Regions from separate parts of the Homo sapiens genome. Here regions 1, 3, 4 and 5 are each linked to region 2. The links are contacts of gene promoters, found by promoter capture Hi-C in blood cells and fetal thymus (Javierre and others, 2016). All regions are on one chromosome and are shown on one strand. Each heading gives the region's core, a stretch centred on a gene start or on the middle of the fragment in contact. The rest is flanking DNA. Distances are from core to core; before and after follow the strand shown. Region 1 overlaps CFAP43 (cilia and flagella associated protein 43). Region 2 holds the start of SLK (STE20 like kinase). Region 3 overlaps SH3PXD2A (SH3 and PX domains 2A). Region 4 overlaps SH3PXD2A (SH3 and PX domains 2A). Region 5 overlaps GSTO1 (glutathione S-transferase omega 1).

Region 1 (2,700 bases), core at 122-2,621, 260 kb after region 2:
AATCCCAGCACTTTGGGAGGGGAAGGCAGGTGGATCACTGAGGTCAGAAGTTTGAGAGCAGCCTGGCCAACATGGTAAAACCTCGTCTCTACTAAAAATCAAAAATTAGCCGGGTGTGGTGGCAAGCACCTGTAATCCCAGCTACTTGGGAGGCTGAGGCAGGCGAATCGCTTGAACCTGGGAGGCGGAAGTTGCAGTGAGCCAAGACTGCGCCACTGCACTCCAGCCTGGGGGACAGAGCAAGACTCTGTCTCATCATATATATATAATATATGATAATCCATTTTTAAATGGAATTGGATCATAGTGTTGCCTCCTATTGGTTTTTTATTTACGTTATATTGACCATTTTATCATTATCTTAACACTTCTTTAAAAGTGTGATTTTTAATGTTTGCATAATACCCCTTTATAGTATATTTTATTTAACTATATCCATAATACTGGAGATGTAGGTTGCTCCAACCTTGTGCTATTATCATAGTGCTTTTTAAGCTCATTTGCATGTAAATCTTTGACCATATTTCTAACCATTTCCTAAAAATTGAATTCGTCTTGAAGTGAGTATACTGGGTCAAATAGAGTCAATATTTATTTCACAGAAAGACTCTATCAATTTATAGTCCCACCTTCAGCAAATAAGAGTGCTACCAATTTCACTGCATTCTACCTAGCAATTATGATCATAAAAAAGTTGTGACCTTGATAGGCAGAAAAATAGCATCTTGGTTTAAATCACACTTTTTAAAACAAATCTTGAGATGAAACATTTTTTGATGTCTTTGGTTATTTGGAGTTTAGTGATTTGTCTGGGTTAATTTCTTTTCCATTGTTCTAAGAGGCTGTTTGTTTTGTTCTTGTTTCATTAATGCTCTGAAAATATTTGATCATATTTGTTCCAAATATTTTACCTGGTTTATTATTTCCCTTTTAATTTTTCATGGTGTTTTTGATGTTAATCAGTTTAAAACAGATATACAATCAAATATGTCTGTCTTTTCTAAGTTTTTGTTTTGTGTGAAAAGTTCTTCCCCTTCCTGGAATCACTCCTCTATTCTACCATGTTTTCTACTTTTTTTTTTTTTTTTTTTTTTTTTTTTTTGAGACAGAGTCTTGCTATGTTGCCAGGCTGGAGTGCAGTGGCGTGATCTCGGCTCGCTGCAACCTCCGCCTCCCGGGTTCAAGCGATTCTGCATCAGCCTCCTGAGTAGCTGGGATTACAGGCATGCGCCACCATGCCCAACTAACTTTTGTATTTTTAGTAAAGATGGGGTTTCCCCATGTTGGCCAGGATGGTCTTGATCTCCTGACCTCGTGATCCACCTGCCTTGGCCTCCCAAAGTGCTGGGATTACAGGCGTGAGCCACTGTGCCCGGCCCATATTTTCTACTATTTTCAAGTGGATTTGTTATTTATATTTAATGCTTTTTTTCATCTGATATAGACCATGAGTATCTAACTTGATACTTTTGTTAAAATATGCAGTTTTCTTAACCACTGTTGAATAATCTATATTTTTTCTTCTTTCTTCCTCCTCCTCCTTCTCTTCCTCCTTCTTTTTGGTGGTAGCCTCTTTCTTCATTTACTCAGCTTTTATATACTTTAGATTCTGTCCCAAGTCTTCAACTCTCCCACTGATTTGGTGATCCCTGCACCAGTGCCATACTTCTAATTACTATGGCACCATAATATTAAAATGACCCTCTGCCTTGCCATCATTCTCTTTCAAATTATTCTCATTCTCTATGTTTTATTTTCCCAGATGAATTTTGGAATCATTTGAGTACTCCTTGCTGTCTAAAACATAGGATAAACCTACAAATTACTTTCTATGACAAATCTCAGAAATATATTTATAATAACCAGGCTTTCCATCCAGGAATATATTTCTATATATTTAAATATTTTAAATCAATGATTTTTGTAGTTTTCTTCCCCTAGGTCACTCACACTTTTTTTTGAATTATTTCTAAGTATGTATATGTTCTAATTGTATGGGTACTTATTTCAAAACCAGCATCTTACTGAGCATTCTTTTGTTAGTCCTAGCAGACTATCGCATTATCCATCATCCCCTTTCCCATAGCTATATTTTTTTCAGTTTTATATTTTGTTGCATTGGCTAGAACTTCCAGGTTGATATTAAATAATAGTGATAACAGGTCTCTCTGATTAATATTACTGATTAGTATTACTGGGAATTCCTTTAGGGCATCATTATTCAGTAAGACTCCTGGGTATTGGTTTGAACTAACTTTCAATTGGTTCAAACAGAACTACAGCCAAATAACCAACCTGGGGAAATTTTAAAGATAAAGGGTATAGTCCACCTAGATAGTCCCCAACATGTGAATGGGTTATGTTTTGAAAATTGTCTTAAACTGTTGAGAATGCAAATTTCACCACAAACAAAGTATTATAAATTATAGTGAAGTTCCCTGACTTCATCCAAACACTTATTTGACCCTTAAGACTACAGAGCTAAGTCCAGCCTCAAGCATGAGCTTTCTGCCCATGGGGTGTTAAATGAAGGAATCATTAGCTGGTGGCTCCAGCAGACGTGCAGCAGCTCAGTGTGGGTCAGCTGTATCTAAGAAAGAGTCATTAGGCCGGGCACAGTGGCTCACGCCTGTAATCCCAGCACTTTGGGAGGCGGAGGTGGGTGGATCACTTGAGGCCAGGAGTTCGAGACCAGCCTGG
Region 2 (2,700 bases), core at 55-2,554:
CTATTATATGCCAGGAATGTTGCCGGGTACTTGGATATCTTGATGAACAACAAACCACTGGCCTGAAAGAGCTCCCGTCTGGTGGAGGAGGGGAAGGTAGGTCACCACCTGACGGATTCCAGCCAACGTCCACACTGCCCCACCAGGGAGTGCTGCCCAAGGGGGCTGGAGGCAGATCAGGAAGTGGGGGCCTTAGCTGAGGTGGAGTCACCAAGAGTGACACCAGGTTTACAGTTGTGGAGGTGGCCAGAAGTTAGTTTTACCCTCAAGGGAGTGTCGCAGTCATCAGTTGAGAAGTGGGGGCCCGGCGCGGTGGCTCACGCCAGTACTTTGGGAGGCCGAGGCGGGCGGATCACGAGGTCAGGAGATCGAGACCATCCTGGCTAACACGGTGAAACCCCGTCTCTACTAAAAATACAAAAAAATTAGCGGGGCGTGGTGGCGGGCGCCTGTAGTCCCAGCTACTCGGGAGGCTGAGGCAGGAGAATAGCGTGAAGCCGGGAGGCGGAGCTTGCGGTGAGCCTAGTTCGCGCCACTGCACTCCAGCCTGGGCGACAGATCGAGACTCCGTCTCAAAAAAAAAAAAAAAAAAAAAAAAAGAAAGAAAGAAAAAAAAGAGAAGTGGTCTTAAACAGTTTTTATGTATCTGTGTCTATCTTGCCTGCACACTTAAAACAACAAGAGTAAGAACTAAGATTGAGCGTTTACGGGTGCAGGGGCCGCGCAAAGGGCTTCCATCTATTGTCTCATTCACAACCTTCTGGTAGGGACTATTAGGATCTTCATTTTACGGCGAGGAAACCGAGGCTCGGAGAGGTCACCTGCCCAAGGTCACAGATCTCTCTCTCCAAAGCTCAAGCTCACAACCACCACACAAACTCCCCTCTCACTGTACCTGGGGCCCGTCTGAGAGCGAAAAAGTCCGCTTTCAGGTCCCAACCCTAACAGGTCCGGCTTTCACTCCACAGTTTTTCCCAGATCCAGAATGGAGACAACATCCGCTAGCACAATCAACAGGGTCGTCCCACGGGGGCCGCTCCATCAAGGCCGTGGACTGACAGGATTTGGGGCTTGGAGGGCAAATGAGAAACAATCGTCAGGGACCGAAGAACAAATGCGTCCATCACACCAGCCCCCCGCACCCCGAGCCCCGTGCTCCGCTCACGCGAACCCTCGGGGGCAGCCAGTCTGAGGGACGTAGCGCGCGTGCGCGGGGCCAGAGGGGACGCCCCCACGCGAGCGCGCGGTGAGCAGGGCGCGTGACCGGGCGGGCGCGCAGCCGGGAAAGCGCGCGGGCGCGCTACGGAGTCGGCGTCGGCGCGCGCTCCAGGCCGAGGCTGTGTGGGCTGGGGAGGGAGACAGGCGGCGGCGGCGGCGCCCCAGACCCGAGGGGACGCGCGGGCCTTGCGCCGCGGGAGCGGACGGCGGCGGAGGAGACCCTAGGCTCGCGGCCCGAGGCGGGAGGGCTCGGCTTCTCGACTGCCCGCCTCCGAGGCCGCCGGCCGCTTCTCTCTCCCAGAGTGGCCGCCGCCCCTGGAGACTCGCCGTGACACGGGCCTAAGCCGCCGCCGCGGGAGTCCTGACCGCTCGGACCCGTCGGATCAGGCCGGGTGGGAGCGAGCTTGCGGGCAGGTGCCGCTCCCGGAGGGTGGGCCGGAGGCGAGGCGCCCACCGCGCGGCTCGCGGGCCGGGCTCGGCGGAGGGGCCGCTCGCGCAGCACCCCCACCGCGGGCCGGAGCCCGGGTCGCCGCCCCGCCTTCTCCCGGGACCGCCCGGCCGGAGCTGCGGGGGCCGAGGGACGCCGCGCCCGCCGCCGCCAGCCGGGCTCGCGCGGGAGAGCAGGGAAGAGAAACTTTGCCTTTTATTGTTTTTAGTCCTTAAGTGCAAGGAACTCTGTGTTGGGAGGAAAAATGTCCTTCTTCAATTTCCGTAAGATCTTCAAGTTGGGGAGCGAGAAGAAGAAGAAGCAGTACGAACACGTGAAGAGGGACCTGAACCCCGAAGACTTTTGGGAGATTATAGGAGAACTGGGCGACGGAGCCTTTGGGAAAGTGTACAAGGTAAGAGGGGGAAAACGGGAAGTTGTACTGCGAAGGTAAAACAGCCACTGGCCTGGAGTGGCGGGAGGACTTCTGCTCCCCTGGTCCTTATCCTGTCCTTCTTTTGACTGTTACGGTTCGATGCAACTTTACTTGGCTGATCATCCAAGGAGTAGCTAAGAAGTCGGGTTTACGGTGGAACAAAATGGGGCCTGGATGGAGTTTAAAGAGCGATTGGAAAAGGAGACAGGGTTATAAAGTCTACTCTTTCAAACTTCAAAGGAAATGAGAGTGTTCTTTAATTTATAGGAGGGGTCTGGTTGTGCCCTTCAAGTATTTTAGAATGAGAAACTCATTGCACTTTGCAGTGGATTTGTCTACTGACTGCATTCGCGTGCATGCTTGTACTCCAACAGTTCTGTTTTTAGGGTCCAGTATATATATTTGGTTGTATCTAGAGCTAATACAGAACTAGTTGGGATCAAAGTGATTGCTACTTGCAGTCTCTTCTTGAGTTAGTTGCTTGACAGCATACTATAAAATAGAATGGAATTTCTGACAAAATTTCCAAAAAACCTTCATGTGGTACTAGTTTTAAATATATTTATGGTAAGCATTGACTAGAAGTCAGTATCAGCGCTTAAGCAGTTAAAAACACACA
Region 3 (2,700 bases), core at 149-2,648, 270 kb before region 2:
GCTCCCTCCCCGGATGCTCTAGTGAAATGGCTGGTGTTGGAGACTGCACAGGGAGAGGCTGGTGGGGGCAGGAAAGGCACTGAACAATTCACATGTGTTGTTCCCCTGTTTTGACACATGGCTCCCCACACTCTGCCTTCCCCTTGAAAACTCCCAGGATTTATTCTTTGGTGTTCTGAAGTAGGCAGAGCAGGTGCTCACCCATTTCATGGATGAGGAGATTGAGGTCTGAGGCTTCAGTGGCTGGCCCAGGCTCCTGAAGCTAAACAGACAGCCCTGACCCACAATGCTCCAAAGGGGCCACGCTGAGGCCCACTAGGGATTTGGCCACAAGGAGAGGTCACACCAGCAGCGGGCAGCAGGCCCTCGCTGGGGAATGGAGATTGCCATCCTGCCGTTCAGAGTTCCCAGAGTGAGAGGTGAAGCCAGGAAGAGCCACTGAGGCACGGGAGAGAGAGGAAAGGGGGCTGGGCCTGGCTGGGCCGGCTCTGTGGAAGGGTGCTGAGTACCTGCCAGGTGGAGTTCTGCTGAATGCTGCAGGGTTGTACCCTCCACTGCCCGCCACACCCCTCACCACTCTCCCTCCCACTGGCAAGTGCCTTGGCAGAGAAGGACACACACACAAACTTCCAGCCTGATGTTCTCACCCTTCTGTCTGCCAGCTGACATTGGCTGCTGGGCCCAGGATGCCTGTCTGCGGGGCCTACAGCCACTGGGAACTGCTCAAGAGGCCGGCTGGGCTGCCAGACAGCTGACTTGGGGGTGACCTTCAGAGCCCAGCAGTCACTGGGGACATGGGCACTATCTAGAATATGAGGGCTGGAGAAGATGCAACCTTGGCCAGGGGAGTGACGTGGGGCTCTTGAGGTACATAATGATTTTGACTGCTGTTATCAACCTAAAAGCACTTTTTAAGCTCTCGCTGTAGGCAACCTCATTAAGGCCTGTGCAGGCAGGCAGAAGAGATATATGTGACATAAGTCCAACGAGAAAGCCAACATTCTCAGACAATCCACGCTGAGAATTACAGGAGGGGTTACACTCAGTGCAGAGAAAAGAGAGGTCCTGGGGGCTACAGAACATCCCAGGTAGCTTCCTGGAGGAGGAGGCCTTAAAGGACAAGGGGGTTTGGATCCATAGAGGGATGCAGGGGGAAAGCTCTACAAGCAGGAGCAAGCAGCTCCAAACAGTTGTGGACTGGGCAGTGAGGGTAGTGGGTGGACGGGCCAGGAAAGGCAAGGCTGAGCAGGGCTTTGATGTCTGGCTGTGAAATCCAGAAGTTTGCAGAATTGGGGAGTGATTTGGTCAGATCCTGGCTGGAGGAAAATTTTGTTAAGAGGAGAGGTTGACAGCTGGGGGTTGGGGGCAGGAGAGGGGCTGTCAAAGTCCAGTGCTGAATGTCCACAGACCCGGGTTCTGGGCCCAGCTCTGCCCCCTCAGGGGCTGGTGACCCTGGACAAGCCACTTCAAACTAGTGCTTTTCAAATGACAGGCAGTGACCCATTAGTGAGTTTCAGAATCAATTTAATGGTCCCAATGAGCATTTTAAGAAGAACAGACTAGAAATGATCAGCGAGTCACCCCTGGCAAGGCTGTTTTGTGGCACCTGCATCAGATGTCTGTCTGCGTATCGAGCTGCAGTGTGATATTTCCCACTGTGGCAGGAGCCCTCGGATTCCCCAGTCCTAACAGGAGGCTACTCTGAGTGTCCTCACAGGGCTATTGTGAGAATTCGAATTATCTGTGAAACCTCCATAGTGAGATGGAGCATGTTCTTCCAGAAACCAAGTGAGGAAGGTCTGAGCAAAGGGCTGGGCGAAGGGGCTTTGGGTCACTGAGGTCTGGAGAGTTGGGGTTTTTTTTCCACCCCTTAGCCCCTAGCTGGGTTTTTGTTCTGGCTTTTGAGAGCCTTTGCACGGAATGGCCTCCAGAGGCAGCAACCTCCAGGCAAGACAGACAGAGGGGCCTGCAGGCCATTCTCTGCCCCCATTTGCTCCCTGATCTAAATCGTGGCACTGAGGGCCCTTGTGTTTAACAAGAATCTGTCCTTTCTCCGCAGGGCCTGTGTTTTCCAGGGTTCTGAGAATGGACCCCATTGTGACCATGTGGCTTGTCCAGAGGGGCCGGAATTCCTGCCCTGGGTGAAAAAGCTGAATTCCTGCGGAGAGAAGGGGTCTTGGGGCTCCCCAGGCTGCATCCCAGAGAGGCCAGATGCTATGGCCATCATAGACCCCAGAACCCCGCCCCCCAGGCATTTTGTCTCCTGAACATCCCAGAGGGTCTCTGCTGCTGCCCTGTCCACAGCAAAAGAACAAAGCACTGTCTGTCTGTCTCCTCTGACTTGTTCCACTATTCTGGGCAAAGGCCCTAAGTGTGTCTTCAGCCACAGGACAAGTTTTACCATGTCCAGGCCTCAGAGCAGGGAGTTAAAAGGGCAGGTGGGTTAGAACCCTGGTTCAGCCACCTAGTGCTTTGTGATATAAACAAGTGACTTCACCTCTCTGTACCTTCGGTTGTAAAAGGGGGTTAAAATAGTTGCTATCTTACAGAGCTGTCGTGGGGATTACATGGGATAATGTGCAAAGCTCTTAAATGGCATCTGGCCCATGGAAAGGACCCGTAGCCCAATAGCCTGGGTTCACAGGGGGCTAGACTAGGAGTGTGGATGGTGGCCGCAATGCAGGAGGTGCTGACTGCCTA
Region 4 (2,700 bases), core at 64-2,563, 290 kb before region 2:
CTGCCTCAGCCTCCTGAGTAACTGGGATTACAGGCGCCCACCACGACACCAAGCTAATTTTTGTATTTTTGTAGAGACAGGGTTTCACCATGTTGGCCAGGCTGGTCTCAAACTCCTGACCTCAAGTAATCCGCCCAACTCGGCCTCCCAAAGTGCTGGGATTACAGGCGTGAGCTACCACACCCGGCCTGCCTTCTTTATGTTTTATTTTGAGATAGGGTCTTGCTCTATTGCCCAGGCTGGAGTGCAGTGGTGCGATCACCATTCACTGCAGCTTTAACCTCCTGGGCTCAACAATCCTTCTTTGCCCTCCCGAGTAGCTGAAACCACAGGTGTGTGCCACCACACTGGACTAATTTTTTATTTTTGTAGAGAAGGGGTCTCACTAGGTTGCCCAGGCTGGTCTCAAGCTCCTGGGCTCAAGTGATCCTCCCACCTCAGGTTCCCAAAGTGCTGGGATTACAGGCGTGAACCACCACACCCAGCAAACTCTGTTTCTGAGCACAAGGAAGCAAAGGGACTTTCTAACATGACCCAGTTGTCTTGGTGCAAGACTTTATTCTAACAATAAATAACAAAATACATTTTCAAGCTGGCTGCTTGGGCCACACATGGCAATGATGAAATCCAGGGGGCAAGGCAGAAAGAAGAGAGTCAGGGAAAAGCATGATTTTCCTGTAAACTTCTAAGTTTTATGGAAACTCAGGAAAAAAATATTTTTTTCTTTCACACTTCGAAACAGACCAATTCTAAAAATGCCACGTGCCGACTAAGTTACACACACCACTTTTCTGTTTCTAAAAGTAACTTTAGATTAGAAAAAGGTGCTAAAACAATAAGTAATGCACATTTCCCCCATGTCTTTGTTTTTCCGCCGGCTTTGTCATCACTGGAAAGGTTGCCTCTTCTGTCACGTGTCTATAAACCAAACGCTGAAGTGAGGAACCAGTGACTTTCTGGCCGTGGGCCACGGTGGGAAACATTTCTTTGCTGGACCACAATTTGGGTATTTCCTCCCCCAGCAACAAAACCTTCTGGAAATGAAAGGCAGATGGTGTCTCTCATCAGGTCAGGGCTGGGTAGGCCCCTCAGATAGCCATTCTCCAAGACTCCAAATGCTGGGCTGTGTTTCAGGGGTAAGAGACTTGGGAGTCCTGTCCTCCATTCCTGCCCCCGTAGCCCACCCTCCCATCTCAGGAGACAACTGAATGTTCTTCAAGGAGCAGTCCCATCCAGGCATCATCCAGGCACCATTCATCTTGGGGATGCCAATCCCCCTGCCATCTTGCTGCCTGTCTACCCTGAACATGGCCATCAACCCACATGGATGACCCATCAAAGACGCAACCCTAGCTTGATTTCAGAAGCCCTGGGAAGCCTGTCAAAAATGCAGATTGGCTGGGTGCAGTGGCTCACGCCTATAATCCCAGCACTCTGGGGGGCCAAGGCAGGAGGATCTGCCTGGCCAACATGGTGTAACCCTGTCTCTACTAAAAATACAAAAATTAGCCAGGTGTTGTGGAGGGTACCTGTAGTCCCAGCTACTCAGGAGGCTGAGGCGGGAGAATCACTTGAACCCAAGAGGCAGAGGTTGCAGTGAGCCAAGATCGCACTACCACACTCCAGCCTGGGTGACAGAGTGAGACTCCATCACACACACACACGCGCCCGCGCGCGCGCGCGCACACACACAAAATGCAGATCGGCCAGATGCGGTGGCTCATATCTATAATCCAGCACTTTGGGAGGCCGAGGTGGGTGGACTGCTTGAGGAGCTTGGGAGTTTGAGACCAGCCTGGGCAATATGGTGAAACCCTGTCTCTTAAGAAAATGAAAAAATGCAGATACCTGGGCGTCACTCCAGACACGCTGATTCAGTAGGTCTGGGCAGGCCCTGGGAATCTGTATTTCAATGAGCAGACTCAAGATTCTGCAGTTCACTTTTGCCCATGCAGTTCCCTTTTGGACCAACTTCCTATTTTCCTAGCAGGAGAAACTGGGTGATAGGAGTGAGGGGGCAGAGGCAGCTGTGCAAGCAGGGCTGAGGGAATTGAGGCTTCCAACTAGCTGCCTCCTTCTGGGGATTCCAGGATCCGGGGAGCGCTTGCCACGCCCCTGCCCCCTCCCCGCTCCGCCTTGCTCTGTGTGTCCAGGCCAATTGGGCAGTGGGGCTCAGCCACCTCGAGCCAGGGAGCGTGGCGCAGACACACACGTGAGCAGCACTCACTTTCTCCATCGCATCACCGCCACGTGGGCTGGCCGCAGAGTTGCCAAATCAATCAGGCTCCTTTCATTTCCAATTAGATGGCTTTGAACTCCAAGGGTAAAATCAGGCTGAGGACCCAGAGCCATGCAAATAAAAACTGTTTAAAAACACCAGCCCAGAGGCTGGCTGCGGTGGCTCATGCCTGTAATCGCAGCACTTTGAGAGGCCGAAGAGGGTGGATCACAAGGTCAGGAGTTCAAGACCAGCTTGGCCAACATGGTGAAATCCCATCTCTACTAAAAATACAAAAAATTAGCCAGGCATGGTGGCATGCATCTGTAATCCCAGCTATTCAGGAGGCGGAGGCAGGAGAATTGCTTGAACCTGGGAGGCAGAGGTTGCAGTGAGCCGAGATCGTGCCATTGCACTCCGGCCTGGGCAACAGAGCCAGATTCCGTCTCAAAAAAAAAAAAAACAAAACAAACCACGAGCCT
Region 5 (2,700 bases), core at 31-2,530, 290 kb after region 2:
GCTGGATTCAGAGGCACAAAGTCCTGGGTTATGTGCTTCACCCTGGACCTTTAGTTTGAAAACAACCCTACCTTATTTACTGGGGCAGTTTTCCAAAGGAACATTGAAACTATCTTCCCCTAATAGTGTGGGGTAGAGGGGAGGAAGAGAGTGGTTAACAGCTTCCAGACAGTGCAAACAACAAAGGTCTACTACATTAATAGACCAGTTTTAAGCTTGAGCCCGAGGAGGCTTTTACTGGGAAAGTACTAGATTTTAACCACATGATATGACTTAACAAAGCATGGTTTTCTCTAAAAGATGCATCTTCCAACTTGCTGTGGCAGGTGTGTAGACTTGTTGGCTCACAATGCCAGCTTACCAAAATTCATGTGTGTTCTGACATACTTTTTTTTTTTTAAATAACAAAAGCCCAGGATCTTTTTGTTTTCATAGTAACAAAAGTTTTTGTTTTATAGTTCAAAAATGTTGATAATTCTTTGGCAAGGAGCCAAATAATTTTTTTTTTTTTTGCAATGGCTGGTACTTAAGTGTCCAGTATTGTCAGCACATGAACCTTTTAAATTACATGCACACCTGTGCTCATGTTCAAATTGGATGTTCCTTTGTTTACATGGGGGATTATGTATTTAAATCCTCAAATGAAATGCTGTTCTAGCTACAGCTGTGGATGGGAAAATAGAAAACAAAAGGTATTGGTGTCTATTTTTTTTTTAGTAATCTGTTCTATTGAACATTTATTCAGCCTTGACAATCATATGGACCTAGCTCCTTTCTCTTAGTTCCTCTACAGTCTCAGGCAACATACAAGATAGACCTAAATACAATCTGACTATAGCCTGGACTTCACCTGTTTTCTTCCTTTTTGGTTTACTTTGTATGATTTACTCAGACAACATTTTTTAAAAAATCAGTACATGGAGATTTAATCTGAAAGCTTATTTTGTGGGTGGATTTTTTTTTTTTTTTCGAGACAGGGTCTCGCCCTGTCACCCAGGCTGGAATGCAGTGGTGCAATCATGGCTCACTGCAACCTCTGCCTCCAGGGCTCAAGCAATCTTCTCACCTCAGCATCCGGAGTAGCCGAGACTACAGGTGAGTACCACCACACTTGGCTAATTTTTATATTTTTTGTAGAGATAGGGTTTCATCATGTTGCCCAGGCTGGTCTTGAACTCCTGGGTTTAAGCAATCCGCCCACTGCAGTCTCCCAAGGTTCTGGGATTACAGATGTAAGCTACCAAGCCTGGCCTTGTGGGTGGATTTTAAGGATTCCTTAATATCTTCATAAAAACCAAGAAACTTTTTACTCAAATTAGCAAAATAAATTGAATTTTATGTTGGTTCTCATATAGTGGATAGTGGACACAATTCAATTAGTTGCCTCATATGATTTATAACTAAGATACCTCTTAGCCATAAATGGAGTATCTTATTGACAATTTTGAAGCATTTCCACAGATTTATTCATTCATTTATATGAAATATTTCAAAACAAAAATATTTACTGAGTCCTTATTTGAAACTTTTTATTTTCTTCAGAGCATTTATATCTATATAGCATTTTGCTCATTTACATGTTTGTTTATTACTATGAACAGATACACAAGATCCCACCTTTCGTGAAGCTTACATTCTAGGAAGATAACAAACTTGTAAATAAGTGAGCAAAGTAATTTCAGATACATATTATCAGTTCAATGAAGAAAGTAAAACATGATAATCATGTAATAGAAGCTGCTCAGCAACTTCAGAGCTATGGTCAGGGAGGGCCTGGGGATGTGTGTTTGACCTGGGAAGACCTGGGAAAAGGCAGGCAGAGGAGGCAGAGGACCATCAAGTGCAAAGACTCTAAGGTGGAAACACATTTGGCAAATTCAAGGAATATAAAAACCGCCAACGTGTAAAAGAAAACATAGGGGAAAAGCTTCATGACACTGGCCTTGGCAATGATTTCCTGGACATGACACCAAAGACCAGGCAACAAGACCAAAAATAAACACATGAGACTACAGCAAACAAGCTTCCACACAGCAAAGGAAACGATTAACAGAGCAAAAAGGCAACCTATGGAATAGGAGAAAGTACTTGCAAACCACATACCTGGTAAGGGGTTAATCTCCAAAATACATAAGGAATCTCTACAACTCAACAACAAAAAAACCTGATTTTAACATGGGCTAAGATCTTACATAGACACTTCTCAGGCTGGGCATGGTAGCTCACGCCTATAACCCCGAGGCAGACAGTTCACTTGAGCCCAGGAGTTCAAGACCAGCCTTGGCAACATGGCAGAATCCTGTCTCTACAAAGAAATTAGCTGGGTGTGATGGTGCACGCCTGTGGTCCCAACTACTCGGGAGGTAGGAGGATCGCTTTAGCCCAGGAGGTCGAGGCTGCAGTGAGCTGCGATCAAGCCACTGTACTCCAGTCTGGGAGACAGAGTGTCAAAAAAAATTAAAAATTAAAAAAATAGACATTTCTTCAAAGAGGATATAAAAATGGGCAACACATATATGAAAAAGTTCTTATCACTAATCATCAGGAAAATGCAAATCAAAATCACATAATAACCTCACACTTGTCAAGATGACTATAATGAAAAAAGACAAGTGTTAGCAAGGATGTGTAGAAATCAGAACCTTTGCACACTGTTGGCGGGAATGTAAAATGGTACAGCTGCTATGGAAAACAGTATAG

Evidence for each region. The method cuts DNA at HindIII sites, captures the fragments that hold promoters and counts their contacts. A CHiCAGO score of 5 or more calls a contact.
Region 1: a contact is called between a fragment that was not itself captured here and the fragment with the promoter of SLK in region 2, in 11 of 17 cell types (naive B cells, naive CD8 T cells, total CD8 T cells and 8 more). The highest score is 8.3, in naive B cells.
Region 3: a fragment that was not itself captured here is called in contact with the fragment with the promoter of SLK in region 2 in 6 of 17 cell types (naive CD8 T cells, non-activated CD4 T cells, M0 macrophages and 3 more); the score reaches 7.0 in naive CD8 T cells.
Region 4: a fragment that was not itself captured here is called in contact with the fragment with the promoter of SLK in region 2 in 2 of 17 cell types (total B cells and total CD8 T cells); the score reaches 5.1 in total B cells.
Region 5: a fragment that was not itself captured here is called in contact with the fragment with the promoter of SLK in region 2 in 7 of 17 cell types (megakaryocytes, activated CD4 T cells, erythroblasts and 4 more); the score reaches 9.5 in megakaryocytes.

What each region holds. Positions count from the first base shown.
Region 1 is chr10:104,226,764-104,229,463 of GRCh38, forward strand. The region is part of intron 2 of CFAP43 (cilia and flagella associated protein 43); the gene reads right to left. Among named protein-coding and RNA genes, the nearest start is that of CFAP43, 4.2 kb to the right of the region's middle. The HindIII fragment of the contact is 3,831 bases long and covers 1-2,700 here.
Region 2 is chr10:103,965,836-103,968,535 of GRCh38, forward strand. It overlaps SLK (STE20 like kinase), which reads left to right and starts at 1,305. Exons shown (of 19, transcript NM_014720.4): 1 at 1,305-2,060. The coding sequence starts at 1,911. LOC102724351 (a long non-coding RNA gene) reads right to left here and starts at 1,210. Exons shown (of 5, transcript XR_007062282.1): 1 at 1-1,210. RefSeq lists silencers at 1,167-1,626, 1,667-1,716, 1,727-1,826. The HindIII fragment of the contact is 5,644 bases long and covers 1-2,700 here.
Region 3 is chr10:103,697,756-103,700,455 of GRCh38, forward strand. The region is part of intron 5 of SH3PXD2A (SH3 and PX domains 2A); the gene reads right to left. Among named protein-coding and RNA genes, the nearest start is that of SH3PXD2A-AS1, 48 kb to the right of the region's middle. The HindIII fragment of the contact is 6,444 bases long and covers 1-2,700 here.
Region 4 is chr10:103,680,090-103,682,789 of GRCh38, forward strand. The region is part of intron 6 of SH3PXD2A (SH3 and PX domains 2A); the gene reads right to left. Among named protein-coding and RNA genes, the nearest start is that of SH3PXD2A-AS1, 65 kb to the right of the region's middle. RefSeq lists an enhancer at 1,892-2,672. The HindIII fragment of the contact is 5,817 bases long and covers 1-2,700 here.
Region 5 is chr10:104,256,389-104,259,088 of GRCh38, forward strand. All of the region lies in intron 2 of GSTO1 (glutathione S-transferase omega 1), which reads left to right. The region is part of intron 1 of LOC124902497 (a long non-coding RNA gene); the gene reads right to left. Among named protein-coding and RNA genes, the nearest start is that of GSTO1, 2.8 kb to the left of the region's middle. The HindIII fragment of the contact is 691 bases long and covers 936-1,626 here.